3 separate regions of the Homo sapiens genome follow, and regions 1 and 3 are each linked to region 2. The links are contacts of gene promoters, found by promoter capture Hi-C in human tissues and cell types (Jung and others, 2019). All regions are on one chromosome and are shown on one strand. Each heading gives the region's core, a stretch centred on a gene start or on the middle of the fragment in contact. The rest is flanking DNA. Distances are from core to core; before and after follow the strand shown.

Region 1 (3,774 bases), core at 1,275-3,774, 440 kb before region 2:
GGCCGAGAGAGACTCAGAGAGAGAGAGAGAGAGAGATCCCTGTCCCTGCTCTCTTAGCCCCAGAGGGCCCCCTAATTTGGTAGAAATAGGGAGGGAGCTGCTCTGGGGTCAAGCAAGACTCGAGTTCCAGCCCAGGTTCTCTCCTGCCTAGGGTCAAGCATCCTTCCCTCTCTCAACCTCAGATTCCCTCCTTGGAAAAACAAAGCTATAAGACCCCCTAGGCATGAAGCGGGGGCCAAGCATCCACTGAACAAATAAATCCTGCTCTATTCTGGGTCCACCAGCCCCTGCTCACCCAGAGGGGACAACCGTGTTGGGGAGACAGAGCTTCGGATGGGACACCCCCAGCCCTGCGTGTCAGGCGCCTTGAGAAGACCTGGGCTCTGCTCAGCCTCCTGTGACCTTGGGCAAGTTTGGGGTCCTTTCTCTGTGCCTCAGTTTTCTTTTTTTCTTTTCTTTTCTTTCTTTTTGTCTGGTGAGGGGACGGAGTCTCTGTCCCCAGGCTGGTGTGCAGCGGCACCATCTCGGCTCACTGCAATCTCCACCTCCTGGGTTCAAGTGATTCTCCTGCCTCAGCCTCCCGAGTAGCTGGGATTATAGGCATGCACCACCACATCTGGCTAATTTTTGTATTTTTAGTAGAGACAGAGTTTCACCATATTGGGCAGGCTGGTCTCGAACTCTTGACCTCAAGTGATCCACCTGCCCCATCTTCCCAAAGTGCTTGCATTACAGGCATGAGCCACTGCACCTGGCCTGTGTGCCTCAGTTTTCTCATTTGTACAGTAATAGAAACAACAAAATTCTGAACATTTCTGGTCTTGGAAGATGCCCGCTGTCTTCCCCCCTGCCCCCCAGAAAAGGCAGGATTATTACTTTTCAGTTGATCTATTTCATCTCTTTAAACTGGTTAAGACAATAGCGAAGACTTGGCCGTGTGTGGTGCCTCACACCTGTAATCCCAGCATTTTGGAAGGCCGAGTAGGGAGAACCACTTGAGTTCTAGATGAGCCTGGGCAACATAGCAAGACCCCTGCCTCTACAATTAAAAAATTAAAAATGGCCGGGCGCGTTGGTGCACGCCTGTAATCCCAGCACTTTGGGAGGCCGAGGCGGGTGGATCACTTGAGGTCAGGAGTTTGAGATCAGCCTGGCCAACATGGTGAAACCCCGTCTCTGCTAAAAAATACAAAAATTAGCCAGGCTTGGTGGTGGGCACCTGTAATCCCAGCTACTCAGGAGGCTGAGGCAGGAGAATCGCTTGAACCCAGGAAGCAAAGGTTGCAGTGAGTCGAGATCGCACCACTGTACTCCAGCCTGGGTGACAGAGTAAGACTCTGTCTAAAAAGATAAAAATAAAAATTAAAAAATTAAAAATTAGCTGGGCATTGTATTGCAGGCCTGTAGTCCCAGCTACTCAGGAGGCAGAGGCTGAAGGATCGCTTGAGCCCAGGGGAATGAGGTTACAGTGAGCTATGATCCTGCCATTACAGGCCAACCCAGAGAGATCCTATGTCAAAAATGAATAAATACCCTGGTGTGGTCGCTCTCGCCTGTGATCCCAGGACTTTGGGAGGCTGAGGCGGGAAGATGACTTGAGTCCAGGAGTTTGAGACCAGCCTGGGCAACATGGCAAAACCCCATCTCTACAAAAAAAATACAAAAAATTAGCCGGGTGTGGTGGCGTGGGCCTGTAGTCCCAGCTACTCAGGAGGCTGAGGTGGGAGAATTGCTTGAGTCAGGGATAGGGAGGTGGCAGTGAGCCCATATCGTGCCACTGCACTCCAGCCAGGGTAACAGAGCAAGAACTCATCTCAAAAATAAAAAATAAAAATAGGTGGCTGGGCGTGGTGGCTTACACCTGTAATCCCAGCTACTTGGGAGGCTGAGGTGGGAGAATCACTTGAACCCAGGAGGTGGAGGTTGCAGTGAGCCGAGATCGCATCACTGCACTCCAGCCTGGAAGACAGAGCAAGACTTTGTCTCAATAATAATAATAAAAATAATAATAGTCCAGGCACAGCTCATGCCTGTAATCCCAGCATTTTGGGAGGCCGAGGCAGATGGATCGCTTGAGGTCAGGAGTTGGAGACCAGCCTGGCCAACATGGCGAACCCCAGTCTCTACTAAAAATAAAAAATAAAAAAAAAAAAATTAGCCAGGCATAGTGGTGCGCACCTGTAATCCCAGCTACTCAGGAGGCTGAGGCAGGAGAATCGCTTGAACCCGGGTGTCAGAAGTTGCAGTGAGCCGAGATCAAGTCACTGCACTCCAACCTGGGTGACAGAGTGAGACTCCATCTCAAAAAAAAAGAAGAAAAAAATAAAAAAGAAAGACTCGTTGCCCAGTGCTCCCTCTGGGAGAAGTACATCCAAGGCCCTGGCCCTGGGAGAAAGGCTCTGGCACTAACCCCACCCTTGACCTTTTTCCTGGGCGGTCCTGAAGAATGTTCTGTCCCTTCTCCAAGGCCCCCAGCTGGGACGGCCCAGGCGCCTATAAAGGGGGTCCCCGCTTGGCCCCGGCGCCACCCACCACCATGGACCCCCGTCTGCCCGCCTGGGCGCTGGTGCTGCTGGGCCCTGCCCTGGTGTTCGCGTTGGGCCCCGCGCCCACCCCAGAGATGCGTGAGAAGTTGTGCGGCCACCACTTCGTACGCGCGCTAGTGCGCGTGTGCGGGGGCCCCCGCTGGTCCACCGAAGCCAGGAGGCCTGCGACCGGAGGCGACCGTGAGTGGGGACGGGCAGGGACAGCGCTCTGGGAAGCCGAGGTGGGGCAGGTGCACGTAGGCGCAGATGCACACGTGCAGGGAGGTGGGCAGGTTTGCATGCATGTGCCCAGGGCTCACCTGCCGGCTGCGTGCACAGATCGTGGGTCCGCACTGGAGTGTGTGTGAACGCGCGTGTGAAAGTCCCCAGAGCCGTTAGCCAGGCGTGGTGGCTCACGCCTGCAATCCCAGCACTTTGGGAGGCTGAGGCGGGTGGATCCCCAGAGGTCAGGAGTTCGAGACCAGCCTGGCCAAAATGGTGAAACCCCATCTCTACTAAAAATAATTTTTAAAAAAATTAGCCGGGGATAATGATGCACATCTGTAATCCCAGCTACTTGGGAGGCCAAGGCAGGAGAATCGCTTGAACCCGGAAGGCAGAGGTTGCAGTGGGCCGATATCATGCCATTGCACTCCAGCCTGGGCGACAGAGTGAAACTCCGTCTCAAAAAAAAAAAAAAAAGAAAGTCCTCAGAGCATGAGTCCCCCTGAGGGGCCAGAAACAGAGTGAGGCAGGAGAGGTAGGCTCTTGCAAGTACATGGTGAGATCCTGTCTTAAAATTTCAATATTTTGATCTTCATGAATTTTTGCCTTAATTTTGCTTTGTTTGTTTGTTTTTTGAGACAGGGTCTCACTCTGACGCCCAGGCTGGAGTGCAGTGGTGAGATCTCGGCTCACTGCAGGCTCAACCTCCTGGGCTCAAACCATCCTCCTGCCTCAGCCTCTGGAGTGGCTGGGATACAGGTGCTGCCACCACACCCAGCTAATTTTTTTTTCTTTTTCGTAGAGAGGGAGTCTCACTCTGTTTCCCAGGCTGGTCTCAAACTCCTGAGCTCAAGTAATCCTCCCACCTTGACCTTCCAAAGTGTTGGGATTAGCGATGTGAGTCACTGTGTCCAGCTTTAAAAGTATTTAAAAGTATTGCTTTTGAAAAGTATTGCTTTTCACAATTATGTTACTTTATTTTATTATTTTATTTTTATTTATTTATTTTGAGACATAGCCTCGC
Region 2 (4,019 bases), core at 580-3,079:
TTCCTCCAGCCCACCCTGACTCCACAGGGTGGGGGGTACCTGTCCCAGTCTGTCTCCCAAGACTGGGAGTTGCTTGTGGCTGAGGTTGGGACTGACACCTCTTGGGGGGCCCTGGCATCACCCAGCATGGAGCAAACAAAGAAGGGACTCCAGGGAGGGTTTCCCTGGAGCTCCTGATCCTGGGAGATAGGCAGGACACACAGAATCCTTTGCTTCCGGGTCCCCAAATCCCCTCCAGGCCCAACTGGGGGGTGACCCACAGCGACCCCAGAAAACTCCCGTGGTTTTTTTGGTTTGTTTGTTTTTGTTTTTGAGACAGAGTTTCTCTCTTATCTCCCAGGATGGAGTGCAGTGGCCCGATCTCGCTTCACTGCAACCTCCGCCTCCCGGGTTCAAGTGGTTCTCCTGCCTCAGCTTCCCAAGCAGCTGGGATTACAGGTGCTCGCCACCACACACGGCTAATTTTTGTATTTTTAGTGGAGATGGGGTTTCACCATATTGGCCAGGCTGGTCTCGCACTCCTGACCTCAGGTGATCCGCCTGCCTCAGCCTCACAAAGTGCTGAGATTACAGGTGTGAGCCACTATGCCCGGCCGCCCATGGGGTTTTGAGTGTCGGGGGAGGAATCTCAGTCCCACGTATCCACCACTTGTCATTCACCATCTCACGGAGCCCCCAGCAGTGCCTCCAGCAGGAAATGATCCTAATCATAACAACAGCCACAGAGTGACGAGGCACTGGGTATACCCCGTCTCACAAAGGGGAAAAGGGAGGCACAGACATGCGAGGCCTCTTGCCCGAGCTCTCCCGGGACAAAGCCAGCTCTTCCCCGCTCCAAGTTCATTATTCCTTGTGCTGCAGTTTCCTGGAGCATTTACTGAGCATCTAAGTGAACAGGGCACTGGGGGCAATGACAGAGCTTGGGGAGCCAGCGCCACCGCCATCCATGGCTCAGCCCTCCGTGACGCCCTCCTATGCAATTACTAATCACCTACTGCTTCTCCATCCCTAGGCTAGCTAAGAGTTTCACACTTTTTCTGTTTTTTTTTTTTTTTGAAACAGAGTCTTGCTCTATACCCCAGGCTGGAGTGCAATGGCACGATCTCTGCTCACCGCAACCTCCGACTCCTGGGTTCAAGCGATTCTCCTGCCTCAGCCTCCTGGGTAGCTGGAATTACAGGCGAGCACCACCACACCTGGCTAAGTTTTGTATTTTTAGTAGAGACGGGGGGTTTCACCACGGTGACCGGGTTGGTCTCAAACTTCTGACCTCAGGTGATCCGTCCGCCTCAGCCTCCCAAAGTGCTGGGATTATAGGCGTGAGCCACCGTGCCTGGCACATTTCCCACGTTTTGTGGCACTTAATCAGCACCGCCCTGGTGAAGTGGGTGCACGTCTGTAGCCAGCCTGTCTTGAGGTAAGTCAAGTTCGCTGAACTAACAGCGTGAGACCCCGAGGCAACCCCTTCTCCTCCCTGTGCCTCAGTTTCCTCCGCCACACAAGGGAGACAGCAACAGACCTGGCATGATTCAGCGACCTAATCACAGCAGGTACTGAGAACAGCACCCGCCAGCAAGTAAAGGCGAACGCGAGGCTCGAAGAGGCCAGGAATGCCTGACCAGCCAGCCAGCGCCCCACCCAGCATTAATCAGAGGGGTCCAGCCGGTGCCCTGGCTCTGGGCCCCCAGCCCCACCCCCGCCTTCTCACAGCCAGAGTGGGAGTGTTGTGATAACCCGCAGCCCCCGTTTCCTCCGGGCCAGGAAGGAGCCAGGCAGAGGAAGTATTAAGAGGAGTAATATAAGCACTCCCCCCTGCGAGGCGGGGGCCAGAGCAGGCCTGGTGGTGAGCAGGGACGGTGCACCGGACGGCGGGATCGAGCAAATGGGTCTGGCCATGGAGCACGGAGGGTCCTACGCTCGGGCGGGGGGCAGCTCTCGGGGCTGCTGGTATTACCTGCGCTACTTCTTCCTCTTCGTCTCCCTCATCCAATTCCTCATCATCCTGGGGCTCGTGCTCTTCATGGTCTATGGCAACGTGCACGTGAGCACAGAGTCCAACCTGCAGGCCACCGAGCGCCGAGCCGAGGGCCTATACAGTCAGCTCCTAGGGCTCACGGCCTCCCAGTCCAACTTGACCAAGGAGCTCAACTTCACCACCCGCGCCAAGGATGCCATCATGCAGATGTGGCTGAATGCTCGCCGCGACCTGGACCGCATCAATGCCAGCTTCCGCCAGTGCCAGGGTGACCGGGTAAGGCTGTGGGCAGGACACTCGCCCTGGGGACCCTGAGCAAGCCCCCTCACCTCTCTGAGCCTGAGTTTCCTCATCCAAGAGAGGGGGACGATCACAGGACCAATGCTCTCTTTTCTTATGAGACAGAGTCTCGCTCCGTCTCCCAGGCTGGAGTGCAGTGGTGCAATCTCGGCTCACTGCAACCTCTGCCTCCTGGGTTGGAGTGATTCTCCTGCCTCAGCCTCCCGAGTAGCTGGGATTACAGGCATGTGCCATCATAACCGGCTCATTTTTGTATTTTTAGTAGAGATGGGGTTTCACCATGTTGGCCAGGCTGGTCTCAAACTCCTGACCTCAAGTGATACGCCTGCCTTGGCCTCCCAAATTGTTGGGATTACAAGCGTGAGCCACTGCACCCGGCCGATAGATTTTTTTTTTTTCCTTAAGAGACAGGGTCTCCATGTGTATCCTGGGCTGGATGGAGTGCAATTGCTATCACAGCTCACTGCAACCTCAATCTCCTGGACTCAAGTGATCCTCTTGCCTCAGCCTCCTGAGTAGCTGGGACTACAGGCGTGCACCACCACACCCAGCTAATATGTTTATATTTAGCAGAGATGAGGTCTCACTATGTTGCCCAGGCTAGTCTCGAACTCCTGGGCTCAAGCAATCCTCTCACCCCAGCCTCCCAAACTGCTGGGATTACAGGTGTGGGGCACTGCGTCCAGCTAAATTTTTTTTATTTCTTTTCTTTTTTTTGGAGGCAGGGTCTCACTCTGTCACCCAGGCTGGAGCACAGTGATGTGAGCATAGCTCACTGAAGCCTTGACATCCTGGGCTCCAGCAATCCTCCTGCCTCAGCCTTTTGAGTAGCTGGCACTATGGACATGCCACTATGCCCAGGTCATTTTTTATTTTTAGTAGACGTGGGGTCTCGCTATGTTGATCAGGCTGGTCTTGAACTCCTGGGCTCAAACAATCCTCCCTCCTGGACCTCCCAAAGTGCTGAGATTACAGGTGGGCACCACCACACCTGGCAATTTTTTTTTTTTTTTTTGAGACGGAGTCTCGCTCTGTCACCCAGGCTGAAGTGCAGTGGCACAATCTCGCCTCACTGCAACCTCCACCTCCCAGGTTCAAGTGATTCTCCTGCCTCAGCCTCCTGAGTAGCTGGGATTACAGGCGTGTGCAACCATGCCAGCTAATTTTTGTATTTTTAGTAGAGACGGGGTTTCACCATGTTTGCCAGGCTGGTCTCAAACTCCTGACCTCAAGTGAGCCACCCACCTCGGCCTCCCATAGTGCTGGGATTACAGGCATGAGCCACCGTGCCCTGACCTGGTGCCCTGGCTAACTTTTTTTTAGAGACAGAATCTCACTATGCTGCTGAGGCTGGTCTTGAACTCCTAGGCTCACCCTCCTAAAGTGCTGAGATTACAGGCATGAGCCACCATTCCCAGCCAGCAACATTTTTTTTAAACTGTAAGTATATTCCATGCAATATTTGAGATATAATTTTGAAAATAATATTCATTGTCTTTTTGGAATCCAAGTTTAATTCTCCTCCTGTGTGTTAATTGGCAGTCCTGAGCCCATAACTTACTATGCATGAAGCTCCCAGAATGTGCCAGCACTAATCAAAGGGGTCCAGCACACACAAGCTGCAAATAAGTGGCTGAAGACCGGCTACAGTAGCTCACACCTGTAATCCCAGCACTTTGGGAGACCGAGGCAGGAGGACCACCTGAGTCCAGGAATTTGAGACCAACCTGGGCAACATGGTGAA
Region 3 (4,317 bases), core at 917-3,416, 340 kb before region 2:
AGGAGTGCAGTGGCGCAGTCTCAGCCCCACTGTAACCTCTGCCTCCTGGGTTCATGTGATCCTCCCACCTCAGCCTCCCGAGTAGCTGGGATTAGAGGCGCCTGCCACCATGCCGTTATTTTTGTATTCTTAGTAGAGACAGGGTTCCTCCACGTTGGCCAGGCTAGTCTCCAACTCCTGACCTCAAGTGATCCGCCCGCTGCGGCCTCCCAAAGTGCTGAGATCAGAGGCGTAAGCCACCGCGCCCGGTTCATTCTAGATGTTCTGTCCACTGCTGGGTCTTGACTGGGGCCCTTCCCTTCCACTGGACACACCAGTCATAGCAGTTTCTCATCAAAAAACCCCCTCCTCAGAGATCTCCCTGCCTCTTCCCCCTTCAATGCCAATTTCCTCATCTGTCAATCAGGGACAAAAACACCAGTTCCTGCACTGTGGGTTGCTGAGGACTGAGGGGGTTATCACTGGGTCACGGCTTGCATTTGAAAGGTCTCAACTGTATTATTACTGTTGTTATTTATAGCTGCATCCCACCCCCCATGCCTGGCACACGGCTGGCACTTCCCCAAATAACAAGAGGTAGGGAGCAGTCAGGGGGACCCCAGCCTCACCTTTCACAATGCTGGAGAAGGTGGCAGAGTGTCGGGACACAAAGACCTTGAGCTGTTCATCAAGGTTGCAGACGCCAGGATCGACATCCCAAGACCGGATGCCTGGTGGGAAGGAGGGATCAAGGCGGGAGTTCAGCCGGGCCCCCCAGCTCCCAGAATATTTCAATAATTAGCACCCCGTGGGTGGGGAGCGCCCCAGCCTCCTCCCTTCACTCACAGCTTGGAGACTCAGAAGTACCCAACACCTTCAGGTCTCGCTGCAGCTGAGCCAGGGGACCCAGAGCACACCTCATCATTTTACACACAAGATTCATCAGCAACAAAGCCTCCACCTCCTCCATCTCCACCTCCTCGCTGCTCCTATGCCCTGCCAGACCCGTTTCCACTCACCGCCCTTGCAACAGCTGTTTCCCCTGCCTGGAAGTCCATCCCCCTGCCGCCCCCACCTGTTCCTACTGGCCAGGGGGCCCTTCCCCCTCAGCACCTTCGGGTGCTAAGACTGACTGTCCTCTCAGTCCCTTGCAGCCTTCTCATCCTTCCTGACACCATGTGAGCTGGAAGCTTGTTCCATCTCCTCACTCGCTTTGGGTCCATCCCCAAACCAGACCTGTGTTGGCAGGGCTGAACCTGTCTATCATCCCGGCCATATCCCTGTGTCCACTGCCCAAAGGCCTGGCGCATAGCAGGTGCTCACTAAACACTCCTCAAGCACATGAACCGAGGTGCGTGTTCCTGTCCCATTTTACATGCAATGAAACGCCAGGTCCAGATGCTCCGAGGGATGGGGGATGAACACCCATCTCCACCCACGGGCGCATCACGCCCGCCAGTCCCACTGAGCCAAGTGGCTGCAGGTGAACCTGGCAGGTGCGCCTATGACTCACCTCCCTAGGTGCCAAATCCCCAGGGCAGGCCGCACCCGCCCACACCCCAATTAGCAGCTCCTTGTGAGGCAACAGAAAGCGGGCCCCGGGGCTCCAGGCCCAGCCTCCCCCATATCTGCTTCTCCCTCCGGGAGATCTCTATCTAAGCTGCTAAGACCTGGAGATCCAAAGCGACCCCAGGCCCTACCCCCGGGCAGGCCAGTCAGGCGGGAAGCGGAGCCGTGGTCCAACTGCAAGGGTCCCCAAGCCCAGGCCCGTGTCCCCTCCCCTATCTTCACCCGGAGTTGGGGCGGGGCAGCCCTGCCCAGCCCAGGCCCGGATGCCACTTTCTCCGCGGGCACCCACGGGCACCCCGCCTTTGCCCGCGTCGTGCGCCTAACGGTGAAGGGGACCCAGCCCCAGGCCCGCGACCCCCGCCCCGGAGCCCGGGTCCCGCCGCCGCCGCCGCCGCCGCCCCACCCCGCCGGCCCCGGGCCCAGACGCGCGAACGGGCCCGCCTCCCGGGCTCCCGCGGGCCCCCAGGCCAGCCCGACCTCTTTCGAGCTCCTCCAGGACGTAGGTGAGGAGCCCCGGGCTCCCGAACTCGCTGCCCACCACGAGGAGCAGTGAGCTCGGAGCCGCGGCAGCCCCAGATCCAGCCACCGCCGCCATCTTCGGGCCGCCCCGGCGTTCTCGGCGCCCGCCCCGCAGGCCCCGCCTCTTAAAGGGGCCGCACCGGAAGGGCTGAAGACCCCGCCCGGAACCACCGCATCCCCGCCCCTTTTTGTCGACCACTTACAGGCCCTTTGAGGTCGTGGAGAGCAGGGGATGCGGGCGTTAAAGGGGTTGGCCGACTCCTGGGTGTCCGCTTGGGAGCCGCCTCTCCCAAGTGACCATTCATTCATTTTTTTTTTCATTGAACAAGCTTTGATTGCGTGCCTGCTGCATGTAGGTCAGAACTCCTGCCCTCCAGGAACTCACATCACATGACAGTAGGCCGCATCAGAACCCGGTGCCTATGGATGCTCCCAGCTCTCTAGGTCAGGGCTTGAACAGAGAAAAGAAATCTATCTTGTAGGTAGGGCTTTAAGGGATGTGTAGGAGTTTGCCTTGTGGGTGGTGGGGCAAGAGCTGGTGAGGCAGAAGTTTACAGCAGGTGCAAAGTTTTAGAGGTAAGAAAGTACATGTGTGTTTGGGACACAACCGGAGCACTCTGGGCCTGCCTGGAACAGGGCAACACTTATTCTGCACCTCCTGTGCGCCAGGTATTTTATTGCATTAGCTCATTACATACAAGCACAAAGCGATGAGTTTTGTGCTTGTATGTAGGCACAGATGAGTAGGCACAGTTACTGTGGTCACTTTCAGAGGAAAGAAGAGGAAACTGAGATTTGGAGGGATGAAGTCACCAGGCCTGTAAGTGGTAGAGCAGGTTTGAACCCAAGTGGGTCTTACTCTAGATCCAGCCTGTGCAAGGGACTGCCTGCGTTGCGCACATGGGTACCTCTCTCTCCCCAGATAATCCTCTTTAGGCTTTTCTTTCCTTTCCTCCCCTCTCTTCTCCTCTCCTCCCCTCCCCTCCTCTCCTCTTCTCCCCTCCCCTCCCCTTCTCTCCCCTCTCCTCTCCTCTCCTCCCCTCCCCTCCCTTCCTCTCCCTCCCCTCCCCTCCCCTCCTCTCCCCTCTCCTCTCCTCTCCTTTCCTTTTCTTGAGATGGAGTCTCATTCTGCCGCCCAGGCTGGAGTGCAATGGCACAATCTCAGCTCACTGCAACCTCTGCCTCCCGGGTTCAAGCGATTCCCTTGCCTCAGCCTCCCAAGTAGCGGGATTATAGGTGTCCGCCACCATGCCCTGCTAATTTTTGTATTTTAGTAGAGATGAGGTTTCTTTTCTTTTCTTTTCTTTTCTTTTCTTTTCTTTTCTTTTCTTTTCTTTTCTTTTAGAGACAGAGTCTCGCTCTGTCGCCCAGGCTGAAGGGTAGTGGCGCGATCTCGGCTCACTGCAAGCTCCACCTCCCAGGTTCATGCCATTCTCCTGCCTCAGCCTCCCGAGTAGCTGGGACTACAGGCGCCCGCCACTGTGCCCAGCTAATTTTTTGTATTTTCAGTAGAGACGGGGTTTCACCGTGGTCTCGATCTCCTGACCTCGTGATCTGCCTGCCTCGGCCTCCCAAAGTGCTGGGATTACAGGCGTGAGCCACCGTGCCCGGCAGAGATGGGGTTTCACCATGTTGGCCAGGCTGGTCTCGAACTCCTGACCTCAAGTGATCCTCCTGCCTTGGCCTCCCAAAGTGCTGGGATTACAGGCGTGAGCCGCCGCGCCTGGCCCCCTTTAGCCCTTTGACCCATAGGGGCTACTACTTGACAAATCATCTTGCTTGGAACTTCTGGACAGTGGTCCATGCCCAGGAAACATTGAACCTCCTTTCTCAGGAGTGAGCTCCCTGTCTCCGGGAGTATGCAAAGAAAAGCAGAACAGAAATGGGAAAGATCTGGGAAGGCGAATCAGCCTCCCGCTGCCGTTTATTATCTAGGTTGTTCAGCCCAACTTCCTCCCTGGCCAGTGTGTAACAGCCACTGGCCACGTGCCGTCTACCATTCTTGCACTCCACTTCCTCTCTCTCTTTTTGGTTCTGGCATCCTTCCTCTATCCTTGTCCCTCCCCCTTGGCTCCCTTCCCTGTGTCTCGCCTGCCTGTGATTTCTTCTGTTATTGCTGTGAGCAGTAATAGTAGTGGGAGTGTCTGTGTCGGGCACTATCTCCCCTATAAGGCTGGAAACTTTTGGAAGCCTGAGGCCTCTCTGGGGCCCTGGCCTTGTGCAACACAAGGCTTGGGCATCTGAGAAGGG

Evidence for each region. The method cuts DNA at HindIII sites, captures the fragments that hold promoters and counts their contacts. A contact is called where the count stands out against the background at its distance.
Region 1: a contact is called between the fragment with the promoter of INSL3 here and the fragment with the promoter of PLVAP in region 2, in 2 of the 25 tissues and cell types used here (IMR-90 fibroblasts and lymphoblastoid cells).
Region 3: the fragment with the promoter of MAP1S here is called in contact with the fragment with the promoter of PLVAP in region 2 in 3 of the 25 tissues and cell types used here (IMR-90 fibroblasts, lymphoblastoid cells and thymus).

What each region holds. Positions count from the first base shown.
Region 1 is chr19:17,820,269-17,824,042 of GRCh38, reverse strand. It overlaps INSL3 (insulin like 3), which reads left to right and starts at 2,524. Exons shown (of 2, transcript NM_005543.4): 1 at 2,524-2,726. The coding sequence starts at 2,537. The HindIII fragment of the contact is 21,957 bases long and covers 1-3,774 here.
Region 2 is chr19:17,375,152-17,379,170 of GRCh38, reverse strand. PLVAP (plasmalemma vesicle associated protein) reads left to right here and starts at 1,829. Exons shown (of 6, transcript NM_031310.3): 1 at 1,829-2,251. The coding sequence starts at 1,883. LOC105372298 (a long non-coding RNA gene) reads left to right here. Exons shown (of 3, transcript XR_936362.3): 3 at 341-381. RefSeq lists an enhancer at 1-11. The HindIII fragment of the contact is 34,336 bases long and covers 1-4,019 here.
Region 3 is chr19:17,717,329-17,721,645 of GRCh38, reverse strand. MAP1S (microtubule associated protein 1S) reads right to left here and starts at 2,166. Exons shown (of 7, transcript NM_018174.6): 1 at 2,026-2,166; 2 at 609-710. The coding sequence starts at 2,143. RefSeq lists enhancers at 975-1,124, 1,515-1,584, 3,635-4,136 and a silencer at 1,935-1,984. The HindIII fragment of the contact is 7,935 bases long and covers 1,784-4,317 here.